Linked DNA regions of Homo sapiens: region 2 is linked to region 1. Evidence: promoter capture Hi-C in human tissues and cell types (Jung and others, 2019). All regions are on one chromosome and are shown on one strand. Each heading gives the region's core, a stretch centred on a gene start or on the middle of the fragment in contact. The rest is flanking DNA. Distances are from core to core; before and after follow the strand shown. Region 1 holds the start of NFIC (nuclear factor I C). Region 2 holds the start of REXO1 (RNA exonuclease 1 homolog).

The links. Contacts are between HindIII fragments. The study calls those that stand out against the background at their distance.
Region 2: a contact is called between the fragment with the promoter of REXO1 here and the fragment with the promoter of NFIC in region 1, in 1 of the 25 tissues and cell types used here (spleen).

The regions. Positions count from the first base shown.
Region 1 is chr19:3,363,168-3,368,785 of GRCh38, forward strand. It overlaps NFIC (nuclear factor I C), which reads left to right and starts at 3,416. Exons shown (of 11, transcript NM_001245002.2): 1 at 3,416-3,499. The coding sequence starts at 3,470. RefSeq lists silencers at 3,045-3,134, 3,585-3,734, 4,025-4,424. The HindIII fragment of the contact is 27,364 bases long and covers 1-5,618 here.
Region 2 is chr19:1,845,356-1,851,063 of GRCh38, forward strand. REXO1 (RNA exonuclease 1 homolog) reads right to left here and starts at 3,128. Exons shown (of 16, transcript NM_020695.4): 1 at 2,847-3,128. The coding sequence starts at 3,003. RefSeq lists a silencer at 2,856-3,325 and enhancers at 3,346-3,495, 3,516-3,595. The HindIII fragment of the contact is 7,366 bases long and covers 125-5,708 here.

The DNA of each region.
Region 1 (5,618 bases), core at 2,166-4,665:
TAAAGGATGTACTTGTGGAAATACTCGTGTATTTCCATAAAGGAGACATATGTATATGTATGTGTATGTGTGTGTATATATATATATATATATATATATATATTTTTTTTTTTTTTTTTTTTGAGATGGAGTTTCGCTCTGTTGCCCAGGCTGGAGTGCAATGGCATGATCCTGGCTCACTGCAACCTCCACCTCCCGAGTTCAAGCGAACCTCCAGCCTCAGCCTCCCGAGTAGCTGACATTACAGGCACCCTCGCCCATGCCCGGCTAATTTTTGTAATTTTAGTAGAGACGGGGTTTCGCCATGTTGGCCAGGCTGATTTTAAACTCCTGACCTCAAGTGATCTGCCTGCCTCGGCCTCCCAAAGTGTTGGGATTACAGGCGTGAGCCACTACAACCGGCCAAAGGAGATATGTGTGTGTGTGGGTGTGTGTGCATGTGTGTGTATGTAAAGGATACTATGTATATTTGTATAAATACATGTGTACTCTTTAAAACCCTAAATGAGATCTTGAATTTCCTTGCTGGGTCTACAGCAGTGGGGTCTCAGCCAGGGTTGATTCTGTTCCCATGGGACACTTAGCCATGTCTAAGGACATTTGTGGTTGTCACGACTGGGGGGTGCCCCTGGCATGGAGTGGGTGGAGGCCATGGACTCTGCTCAGCACCCTGCAGGGCCCAGGACGGCCCCAACCCAGAGAGCGATCCAGCCCCAGTGTCCACAGTGCCAAGGGGGAGAGCTCTCCAGCTTTCTGTCCCCCCACTTGTCTCTTGGGGACATAACCAGTTGGGAGCCACTGGTTTTACTCAGCTGCATAGTGTCCCAGCCTGTGTTGGGATTACTAAACCGGTCCCCCACAGATGGACAGCATGGCTGCCTCCAAATTGTGGGCATTAGTTTTATAGGTGGCAGTCAACTCTTTTGTGCTCCTGTATCTGGGACAGTTACAGAGATGCCGAAGAGTGAAATAACTGTAGAGAGAGTGCTTTGAAAAAAAAAAAAAATGAGCCAGATTGTGCTCGAAAGTGCCAGGAGCTAAATCATGCACCCATCTTCCGGGCCCTCCACATGCAGGTCCCAATCTACCAATTGCCTTTTTAAAGAAACTATGACGTACAGTTCCCTGTTGTAACCACGGGCAGGTATTTGCTGACTTGCCTACAACCTGGAGGGTTATGAGCTGGCGTCGCCCCATTTCACAGAGGGAGAGCCGAGGTGCAGAGAGACGAAGCTGCTGACTGGAGGAGACATAGACCCAAGCAGCGAGCCCACGCGGCAATTTAGGGAACCAACTGTGTGTGCTGCGGGGGTCCCTTGCCACCCAAACTGGGATATAGGCTGCTGTTCGTACACTTGCAGAAGTTTCTCCCTGCAGCTACCGCCACCAATAATATTCACACAGCCTTCCCACATGCTATGTAAAGACTCCAACCTTCCCCACCTCCCAAGATGCATCCTGTTACTATAGCCATTTTACAGATGAGGAAACCGAGGTTCCAAGAGGGGCAGTCTCTGCTCTCTAAACTTCACCTTCCAAAGGATTCTAAGCTGCTGAATGAAGGCTGCAGGCAGGGTGGTCTGTACAGGGGAGGGAGGGTGGAAGGCACGGGGTCTGGAAGTCTAGGAGGAGTGTCTGAAGTCAACTGCAACTTTTAAATATCTGTGAATTTTAGATTTCACCCTGTATGTGTCCCTAGCGTGTTTTAATAAAATAAATTGCTTCACGTTATATTGGTATGTGGATTTCCAGATACACTTCTCACCATTTAATTCAAATGCTCCCCACAGCTGCACAGTGGGTTTAAAATACACAGACACACACATTTATGGACCGTTCGTGATGTACTAAGCACTGTTTGAATAATGTCACCGTCATGCAGAGGGGAGCCTGTGGGGGGCCTAGGGAACCTACGCTGCAGGAATTCTGCTCCCTCCTAGTTTACCTGTCAGACCCTGGGCAAGTGGCTTCCGTTCTCTGGGCCTCAGTTTCCTCTCCTGTAATGCCTGAGGATAATGGGTGCTGGTATCTTCTGCGCCCCTGGGCCTGGGGCACCTGCCCCAGCTTGGTGAGAGGGTATCATTTGTCCTTGGGAAGCTCAGAGAGATGAGGTGAAATGGCCAAGCTTTCTAAGAATGTGTCTTTAGTGAACATTTGACCCAAGGTCAAGGCTCTGCTAAGGTCATTGTCCTTATCCCCAGCAATCCCACAGGATGGGCATCTTTAAGCCACTTTATAGGGGAGAACCCTTGGGATGGGAATGAGAGACACAGCAGCCTCTGAGCTAGCCTGGGAGGATCCAGGGAGTGAACCGGGGGAGGGTTGGGGCCCTGTCATCAGATGCCCTGGGGGCTCAGACGGAGGCAGGCCAGGTCTCTGCCCTGTTACGTCTAGAAGGAGAACAGAATGTGGGCTCCAGGTCCAGATGGCCTGGCTCCAAGCCACACTTGCCATACCTCAGTCTTGAGATCTGTGAAAAGGGCACACCCCTGAGGCAGGTGGAAATTATTGGATACCCAGGGGGAGGCTGCAAGGGTTTATCTGGCCAGCTGGAGATCCCGCCTGGACACCGTCCTCCTGGGGTGCTGGAGAGACACACAGGCGAGGCCACCCCTCCCCTGCCCCTTGGGTGCTGGGTGAAGAGAGCAAATTCTGGAGCCTCCCGTGTTAGCCTGGGCCCTTCTGGCCAAGGAAGGGACAGCTGCACACAAGCCCCTCTAGCTGGGGACCCGCAGCCCCTGCCTGGCTCTGGGGGGAGAAGGGAGCCAGGGTGCTGTGGGACCAGCTCACCGTGCACCCAGGGTCGTACATCTTTAAGGGGAAAGAGGCGCGCTGGCCGGCCTCTGCGCACGTCACTTCTTCATTCCTTCCCTCCCCCCTGGCTCTTTCCTCCAACTTCCCGGCCAGCTCGGGGGTGATGGGGGGGTGGGGAGGGGGGGCCTTAAAAATCCACCCCTGGCCCCTCAATGTCCAGAAACAACCCTGTCCCCCCTCTCCGCTTGATCCGAATTGGGGTCGCCCTGCAGTCCTGGGGTCCTGGTCTAGTGCCCTGGGGCATTGCGTAAATACGGGAGGAGCGGGGGGGTCCTGAGACGTCGGGGGAGGCTCTCCTTTCTCGCTCGCGCCCTTTTTTCCCTCGTTTCTTTGAAAGTTGGGTGTTGAGAAGTGGGAGGTTCGGGGTGGGAGGGGGAGGGTGTCAGAGGGTAGAGAGAGAGACAGAGAGACAGAGACGGGGGAGAGAGGAAGAGAGAGACGGAGGGAGAGAGGGACAGAGAGCGAGGCGGGCGGCGCGAGAGAGGGAGAGCAGGAGGGAGGAGGAGGGAGACCGAGGGAGGAGGCGGCGAGGAGAGCGCGCCGGCCGCGGGGCGGGGGGGGGGGTTGGGGGGGGCGGGGGGGTGGTTTGGAAAAATGACTCAGTAAGTTCAGCGCGCCCGCTCCGGCCGGCCCTGCGCCTCCCGCCGCGCCCGGGATGTATTCGTCCCCGCTCTGCCTCACCCAGGTACGGTCCTCGCCCGGCCCCCCGCCGGCGCCCCCGCGCCCCCCGCATCCCAGCCCCGGAGTTTTGAAGCAGGAGGAGGCGGGACGAAAAAGGCGCGCGTCCCTCCCGCCATCCCTGCCCGGGATGCCCCCCGCGCCGAGGGCTGGGGTCCGGTGGGGGGATGGGTCAGGCTGGGGTACCCCCCCCACACCCTTACCTACCGCGGACCCCCTACGCGGGACTCCCGCCCAGCACCCCCAACCCCGACTCTCGGGACCTCTCCCGGATGTGGGGCTTGGTCTGCAGATTTGCGTCCCCCCCCCACACACCGACGCACTCCGCACCCCCGCCCCGACACTCGGAAAGGTCGGGGTGGGGGCTGGCCCCCCTCCAGCAAGGGCTCTGCGGGAAGCCCCCCGCCTGCCTCTGAGAGGAATCTAGGGGGTCGTGATTGGACCCTGGGTCTCCCCAGCTGGAGAGAAAGGGACCTCTCATGTGTTTTCCCCGTGTCCCCCCACCAAGGTTGTGCGGGCCGCCCTGGCCCTCGGTCGCCTTTCCCTCGTTATTGGCCCACGTGTGCATGGAGGGGGAGGGGGCAGGAGAAGTTGGAGGCCCAGGAGGGGGAAGGGTGCTCCGGCGGCCCGGCTGGGTCCCCCCTCCTTTGCAAGCCCCCCAGCACCGTCCCGGTATTTTCGCTGCATCGATTCTGGATTCTGGATTCTGGATTCTGGAGCCGCCGCCGGGAGGAGCGGGAGGCCCGGCGCTCCGGGTCTGGCCCGGGCACTGCGGCGCTGCGGACGCCCTCGCCAGCCCGGCACCTGCCCCGTCCCCTCCCCCTCCCCCTCCCCCTCCCGTAGCCTCTCACCCCTGGCCGCACTCCCAGACTGCCCCGGGGCCGAGCCTTGTGCAATGGCCGAGGGGGTGTGTGGGGAGGGGGCGGCTCCCCCCGGGGACTCCTTCCAGCCCAGGCTCCCGGGGACCCCGAGGTCTGCAAGTTCCGTTTTCTAGACCGCTGCTTTCCTCCTTACGCAGTGTGTCTTTAGGCTGGAGAGGTTCTGGCCTCAGTTTCCCCTGAAGTGAGGTGCGGCTAAGGCCGGTTCTGGAGAGGGGACAGTATGGCGGGCAAACTGTAAAGTCCCGGCACGTGGGGGGTGCGATTCCAGCGAGGGCCAGGCCCGTCTTAAGAAGCACTGTGTGGGGAGTATATGAGTCCCCGGCTTCCGCTCCAGGGCATGGTGCAGTGAGGGACCCCCCACGCCAGGCATGCTCCTTGGTAGGGTCTTTCTCACCGGCCCCCTGCAGCCGACAGGGAATGTGGGAGCTGGTGCTGAGGGGGTCTGAGGTCTGTCCTACCTGTGATCCCCTGAGTGACCTTGGGTAAGTCCCTGTCCCAGCCTCAGTTTCCCTTTCTGAGCAGCTTTGGGGGGGGGGTTCCCGAAGAAGGCATCTCTTTGAAGTTCTCCAAGAACAACTAGGGTTCGAGTGGGCACGCTGTGTGACCTCGGGCAGCCTTTGAAGTCTCTGGGCTTGTGGGGTGACTGAGGTGTCCCCGCTCTGTCCTCACCAGCTGGAAGGAGCCATTTGGGAGGGCTGAGCGGAGGGGAGGCTGTTCCAGGCTGGGGAGGTTGGAAGGCTGCCTGTGCACCCTGGAATTCCCCCATCAGGGCTGGTTGGGAGACATCCTGGTTGCTGGGGTGGGTTGGGGGTTAGTAAGAACCCCAGTCCAGGCTTTGCCTCAGAGAATTGCTAACTCGGCCTCAGTTTCTCCAGGAACAGGGCAAGGACCAGCCAGGAGGGCTGTCTGTGGAAACCAAAAAACGGAGAGGCTAAAAACTAAAAACTATCCAGGGGTGCTGCGTGCAAGAGACAGAGATGAGAAGACAGAGACAGGCAGAGAGACAGAGGCAGAGAGCTCCCAGGCCAGAGTGGGGACAGCGAGTCCCAAGTGCAGGGGGCTCCCTCCTCCCCTGCGATTCTCCTCTCTGCCCCGCCCTCCACCCCAGCCCTGTAGTGGAGCTGGGGACCCCCTTTCCAGTTTGTCTTCAGCCTGAATGTAATCCCCACTGTTCCCCCAAGGCCCAGCCTGGTCTGGGGTAGCCAGTGGGGTGGGCTGGGGGACTCAGAAGGACCCTGAGTGCCC
Region 2 (5,708 bases), core at 1,878-4,377, 1.5 Mb before region 1:
TCCAGCCGGCTCTGAAATGGCTGTGCAGCCCAGCGCGGTGCTTCACGCCTGTCATCCCAGCACTTCAGGAGGCTGAGGAGAGAGGATCGCTTGAGTCCAGGAGCTCAAGACCAGCATGGGCAACAAAGTGAGACCCCGTCTCGGCAAAAATTTTAAACATTAGCGAGGTGTGATGTCACATGCCTGTGGTCTCAGCTAGTCAGGAGGCTGAGCCAGGTGGATCCCTTGAGTCCAGGAGGTCGAGGCTGCAGTAAGCTGTGATCGCACCACTGCACTCCAGCCTGGGTGATAAAGTGAGACCCTGTCTCAAAAATTAATTCATTAAATAAAATGGCTGAGCAGGTCCAGGGATAAGAGCCCAGAAGGAAACCTGAGTCCTTCAGCAGTGCTGCTCAAGGTCGCCAATGACCCGCTGAGCCTGTGACCCAGGGCCCAGGAGCACCAGCCACCTTCCTGTTCCCGTCGCAGCTCCGCCAAGCCTCCCAACCCTGCCTGCCTTGGTGCCCTCATCAGATGCCCTCTCCTTCTCCCAGAGGCCCTGGAGGCTCCAGCCCTGCCCTGGCCAGGTGGTAGTATGGGCAAAACACGTTCCTCGATAAGCCTCCGTTTCCCCACCGGCAGCAAATAGCTCACAGGGTCACCATGCAGCGCGTGTCCAGCACAGAGCATGGCCCCACAGGTGCTCCAGGGCTAGCTGAGGGCTTTTCACCTGAACCTCTGTCCACTCTCAATCCTGGGAGGCCAGCGTTCCTGTCTATCTCCTCTCTGGAGGCCGCTGCCCTGTGCACCCTAAAATCCCCTTGAGAAGACATGGCAAAGGCTAGATCACGCCAGCCTCTTCAAATCTCATAGGAAACTGGGTGTGTGTAAATCTGGAGGTGTGGACATGGGACATGCATCCCCCCCTGTCCTCAGAGGGCAGCCTGATGAACATGTCACGGAGGCGGAAACAGAGGGTCAGAGAAACCTCACCGCAAGGAAGATGGATCCTGCCTTCTGCGGGGGGAGGCAGTCTTCTACCAGACAGTAACAAGAAGCCCTACCACCCCACCAGAGATGGGAAAAGGAGTTCATTCTCACCAGCAAAAGGGAAATGCAGACACGCCATGGTAAGAGGCAGGCAGCTGCCTTTTTCCCATAGGAACGGGGGGCAGACAGGAAGACGACATCACCAAAGGGACCCTCAAAAATAAGCCTTTGGGAAACAAATGAGCCATTTGGGATGCAGACAGATATCATAAGCCTGACTTGCGCCGGGTGCAGTAGCTCACACCTGTAACCCCAGCACTTTGGGAGGCCGAAGCAGGAGGTCGGCTCGAGGCCAGGAGTTTTGAGACAAGCCTGGACAACATAGCGAGACCCTATCTCCACGAAAACATACAAAGTTAGCCAGGCTTGGTGGCACCCGCCGCCCATAGTCCCAGCTACTCAGGAGGTTCAGGCAGGAGGATCCCTTGAGCCCAGGAGGTCGAGGCCTCAAAGAGCTGTGATCGCACCACTGCACTCCAGCCTGGACTATAGAGTGAGACCCTGTCTCTAAAAATAGGGTTAAAATGAGCATCGTGAGTCTGGTGTCACAGCCTCCGAGAAGCCTCTCCCACGCGTTGCCTTCTTCACCAACTCCCAGCCCCCGCCAAAGCCGGCTGCGTGCTCCCAGGACATCACGACCTATGCTACGGGATCTGTAGGCACAGCTGTCGGCAGGTCCCTGAGAGCACAGCCGGCATCGTACGCAGCTCTGAATCCCCCGCCTCAAACACAGCGAAGACGCTGGGCTGTGGGGAGCTGACAAGTGATTGCTTGCATCTGTCCACCTGCAAACAACCGCCCACAGGTGCAGGTGTCCCAAGCACACTTATCAGGGAAATCAGAAAAAAATGCTACCTTTTCTGGCAAAACAGGAAAATAAACCTATTCTTAAATCCTAGAGAAGATGTTTCTCTTTTGCAGGAAAAGGTTCTGAGCTGAGACTGTTTCATGGTTAAAGTAAAAACAGTGCTTGAAACTCACGCCCAATGAGGAAATCTGGGACGAAGGAAGTCAGGGGCTGGGTGAAGCAGAGAGCCACTATCAAGGGACAGAGGTAACAGGGGAGTCTGAATGACATCACACTCGATAACCCTCCCTCCACGACTTTCCTTGCGATGTCCCTCTTTTTCTCCAATCCAAATCCCACATCTCCTCCAAGAAACGCTGCCATGACGATGAAAACCACCATGACGCTGTGAGGTGGAGTCCACCAACGTCCTCTGCCCGACCAAAAGCATGGAATTCCTCGGAGCCCACTCGAGTAAGCTTTGACTTCCTCCCTGCCAGTCATGCTGGACACAGGGCTCGACAAACACAAGAGACGATCCTCGGACCATCCTAACTCAACGACTGGAGACTGAGGTGGCCGCTGCCAGAGGCGCGGCCGGAGGAAACGTCATGGAAATAAACAAGGGCGGCCACAAGCACATGGGGTCCGGGAAGCGGCGGGCGCCAATCAGGGGCAGGAGGAGTCCAGGACCTGCCTAGCGCCGGCCGCGCCCGTCTCCCGAGCCCCCTTGTGTCAGGCCCGGTGCCCGGTACTCAACATGCGCTCGCACTCCGCCCTCTAGACAGCCCTGGCAGGACGCGTCCTCCTAGTTGACATTTCACACTCGTGAAGACGAAGGCTTAGGGACATCTAGTGCTTTGCACCGGGTCCCAGGGTGGGTGGTTCCGGTCCCGACTGGGAAAACCGTCGCCCGCGAACGTGTGGGGAGGAGGCTGGGCCGAGAACGGGGACCCCGGGCGGGACCGGGGTGGGGTCCAGACCCGGGCAGGGGAGCCGAGCCCAAGGCAAGCAGGCGGGCGGGCATTACCTGCTGCGGGGGGCGCCTCTCCGCCGTCACCGGGCGCGCCGGAGCCCCGGGCCCCGCGGTGCCGGAAGTGGCAGTAGGGCCGCCGGCAGGGCCCCCCGGGCGCCCCAGACCAATAGGGGCAGTCAATGGCCCGGAAGAAGCCAGTGGAGCGTAGCATGGTCCGTCCCGCGGCGGGGCCCCGGCCCGGAGCCGCCCGGGCCCCAGGGCCCCCTCACTGGCGCCGCGGTCGCCGCCGCCCGCGCCTCACGGACCCCGCCGCCGCCATCTTGCTCCGAGGCCCCCGGAGGCCCTCGGGACGCCGCCGCAAGGGACCCCGGGAGGGGCTGCCCGCAGCGCGCCTGCTCAGAAACGCCTGCTCCTGCGCGACCAAGGCTGGTGACGGACCCCTGGGCCGGGACAGACGGCCGCGGGAGGAAGTAAGGAGGGCAGGGGCTGCCCTGCCTGCGGTCTCCGGGAGCCTCGCCAGCGCCGCCGCCCGACCTTCGGCGGCTGTAGCGGCGCCATCTTGAGCCCCAGGCCCCTGCGGCGCCAGGGCTGTCCACGGCGCGCCTGACCAAAAAAGCCCCGCGGGGCCCGCTATTACTCATTTGCATATTATTTCCTTTCGTTAGCATATCACCTTAAGGCGCCCTCTGCTGGACGAGGAGAGTTCTGCGGGGAGGTGGCCTTAAACCTGGGCCAGGTGAAACTCATGGTTGAATTACTCCGTTCACAGTCTTTAAAAATCCCCTCGCCCTGGTATACAGCTGGCTCTCAAGAAACGCCTTAATCTCCCCAACCTCGACTCTTGTCATCAGTCTAATGACCAGGTCCACGTTCACTCATTTGTTCAACAAATATTGAGCGCCTACTGTATACCAGCTAGAGGGTGCATTTTAACAGACAAACGAGGAACAAGGCTGGGATGGGGCAACTCTGTAGTCTGGTGGAGTAGGCCCACGTCTTAATGGGAAGTTTAACCTGGTGCATTTTGGTGGGATTGTAAAATAGTGCCACTGCTATGTAAAACAAAAAACCCAAAAAGTTTGTTTTTAAGAGACAGGGTCTTGCTCTGTCACCCAGGCTGGAGAGCAGTGGTGCGATCACGGCTCACTGCAGCCTCGACTTCCCTGGCTCAGGTGATTCTCCCACCTCAGCCTCCCGAGTAGCTAAAACCACAGGTGTGCACCATCATGCCTGGCTAATTTTTTGTATTTTGTGTAGAGATGGAAAAAGTTAAACAGAATTACCCTATGAGCAACTCTATTCCTGGGTATACACCCAAAAAGAATAGAAAGCAAAGTCTTAGGTCGGGCACAGTGGCTCATGTCTGTAATCCCAACACTCTGGGAGGCTGAGGCGGGTGGATCACTTGAGCCCAGGATTTCAAGACCAGCTTGGCCAATATGGCAAAACCCTGTCCTACTAAAAATACAAAAATTAGCTGGGCGCGATGGCTCACGCCTGTAATCCCAGCTCTTTGGGAGGCCGAGGAGGGAAGATCAACCGAGGTCAGGAGTTTGAGACCAGCCTGGCCAAGATGGCGAAACCCCACCTCTATTAAAAATACAAAAATTAGCTGGGCGTGGTGGCGGGCGCCTGTAGTCCCAACTACTTGGGAGGCTGAAGCAGGAGAATCACTTGAACCTGGGAAGCGGAGGTTGCAGTGAGCCAAGATTGCACCACTGCACTCCAGCCTGGGTGACAGAGTGACAGTCCGTCTCAAATAACAATACAATGGTTAAGATGACAAATTTTATGTTATGTGCATGTGATTTTACCACAATTATAAATAAATGACAGGATGCAATGATGAGGGGACGTGGGTTGGGATGGGTCATGGGCGACTCTGCAGAGGACCTGATCTAATCTCAAAGCTGTCCTATCATGGGCAGTGGAGGCGTAGACTCCCTGTCATGGCTCCTGATGATGCGTGAGAGATGAACTCTCATTTATGCGATTGCTCCATCCGTGCCGGCTGGTGTCGGTCATTCATTCAGCAAATAGTTACTGAGCACCTACTGTGTGCCACAAAATGCTAGAAACATCCATAAGCAGAGCAGAGAACCCCACTCTGGTGGAGGTGATGGTGTAGGCAGGGAGGCCGACAATGAACACAGCAATAAGTGAGACAGCCTGAAGCCAGGTGGAAAGTGCTTTGAGAACAGAAACAGGAGAAGAGCCTGGACTGGGCACAGGGCTGGTCTGGGTGATTCTATGGGGAAGGCGGGATTTGTGCGGTTTTACAGAAAATTAGGGGCCAGGCATGGTGCCTCTCGCCTGTAATCCCAGCACTTTGGGAGGCTGAGGCAGGCAGATCACTTGAGGTCAGGAGTTCGAGACCAGCCTGACTAACATGGTGAAACCCCATCTCTACTAAAATTACAAAAATTAGCTGGGTGTGGTGGCCCATGCCTGTAATCCCAGCTACTCGGGAGGCTGAGGCAGGAGAATCCCTTGAACCTGGGAGGCGGAGGTTGCAGTGAGCCAAGATTGCACCACTGCACTCCAGCCTGGGTGACAGAGTGAGACAGTGTCTCGAAAAAATAAAAGATAAATAAATAAATAAAAGATGATGAGGGAGCCAAGCAGGCTTCTGGAGGAAAAGCATTCCGGGCAGAGGGCACAGGCCATGGGCAGGACTGCGCCTGGTGTGTTGGAGGAACAGCGAGGAGGCCAGTGTGGCTGGACCAGGGTGAGGAGGGGGAGAGAGGCAGGAGGGAAGAGCAGGGAGAGGACGGGGCAGGTCATGCAGAACCCTATGGGCCTCAGGGAGGACTTGGGCTTTGACTGTGAGGGCAGTGGGAGCCATGGAGGGTTGCGGGCAGAGGAGGAACCAGACTTGCCCCAGGTGTTCACGGACACCCTCTGGTGGCCGTGGGG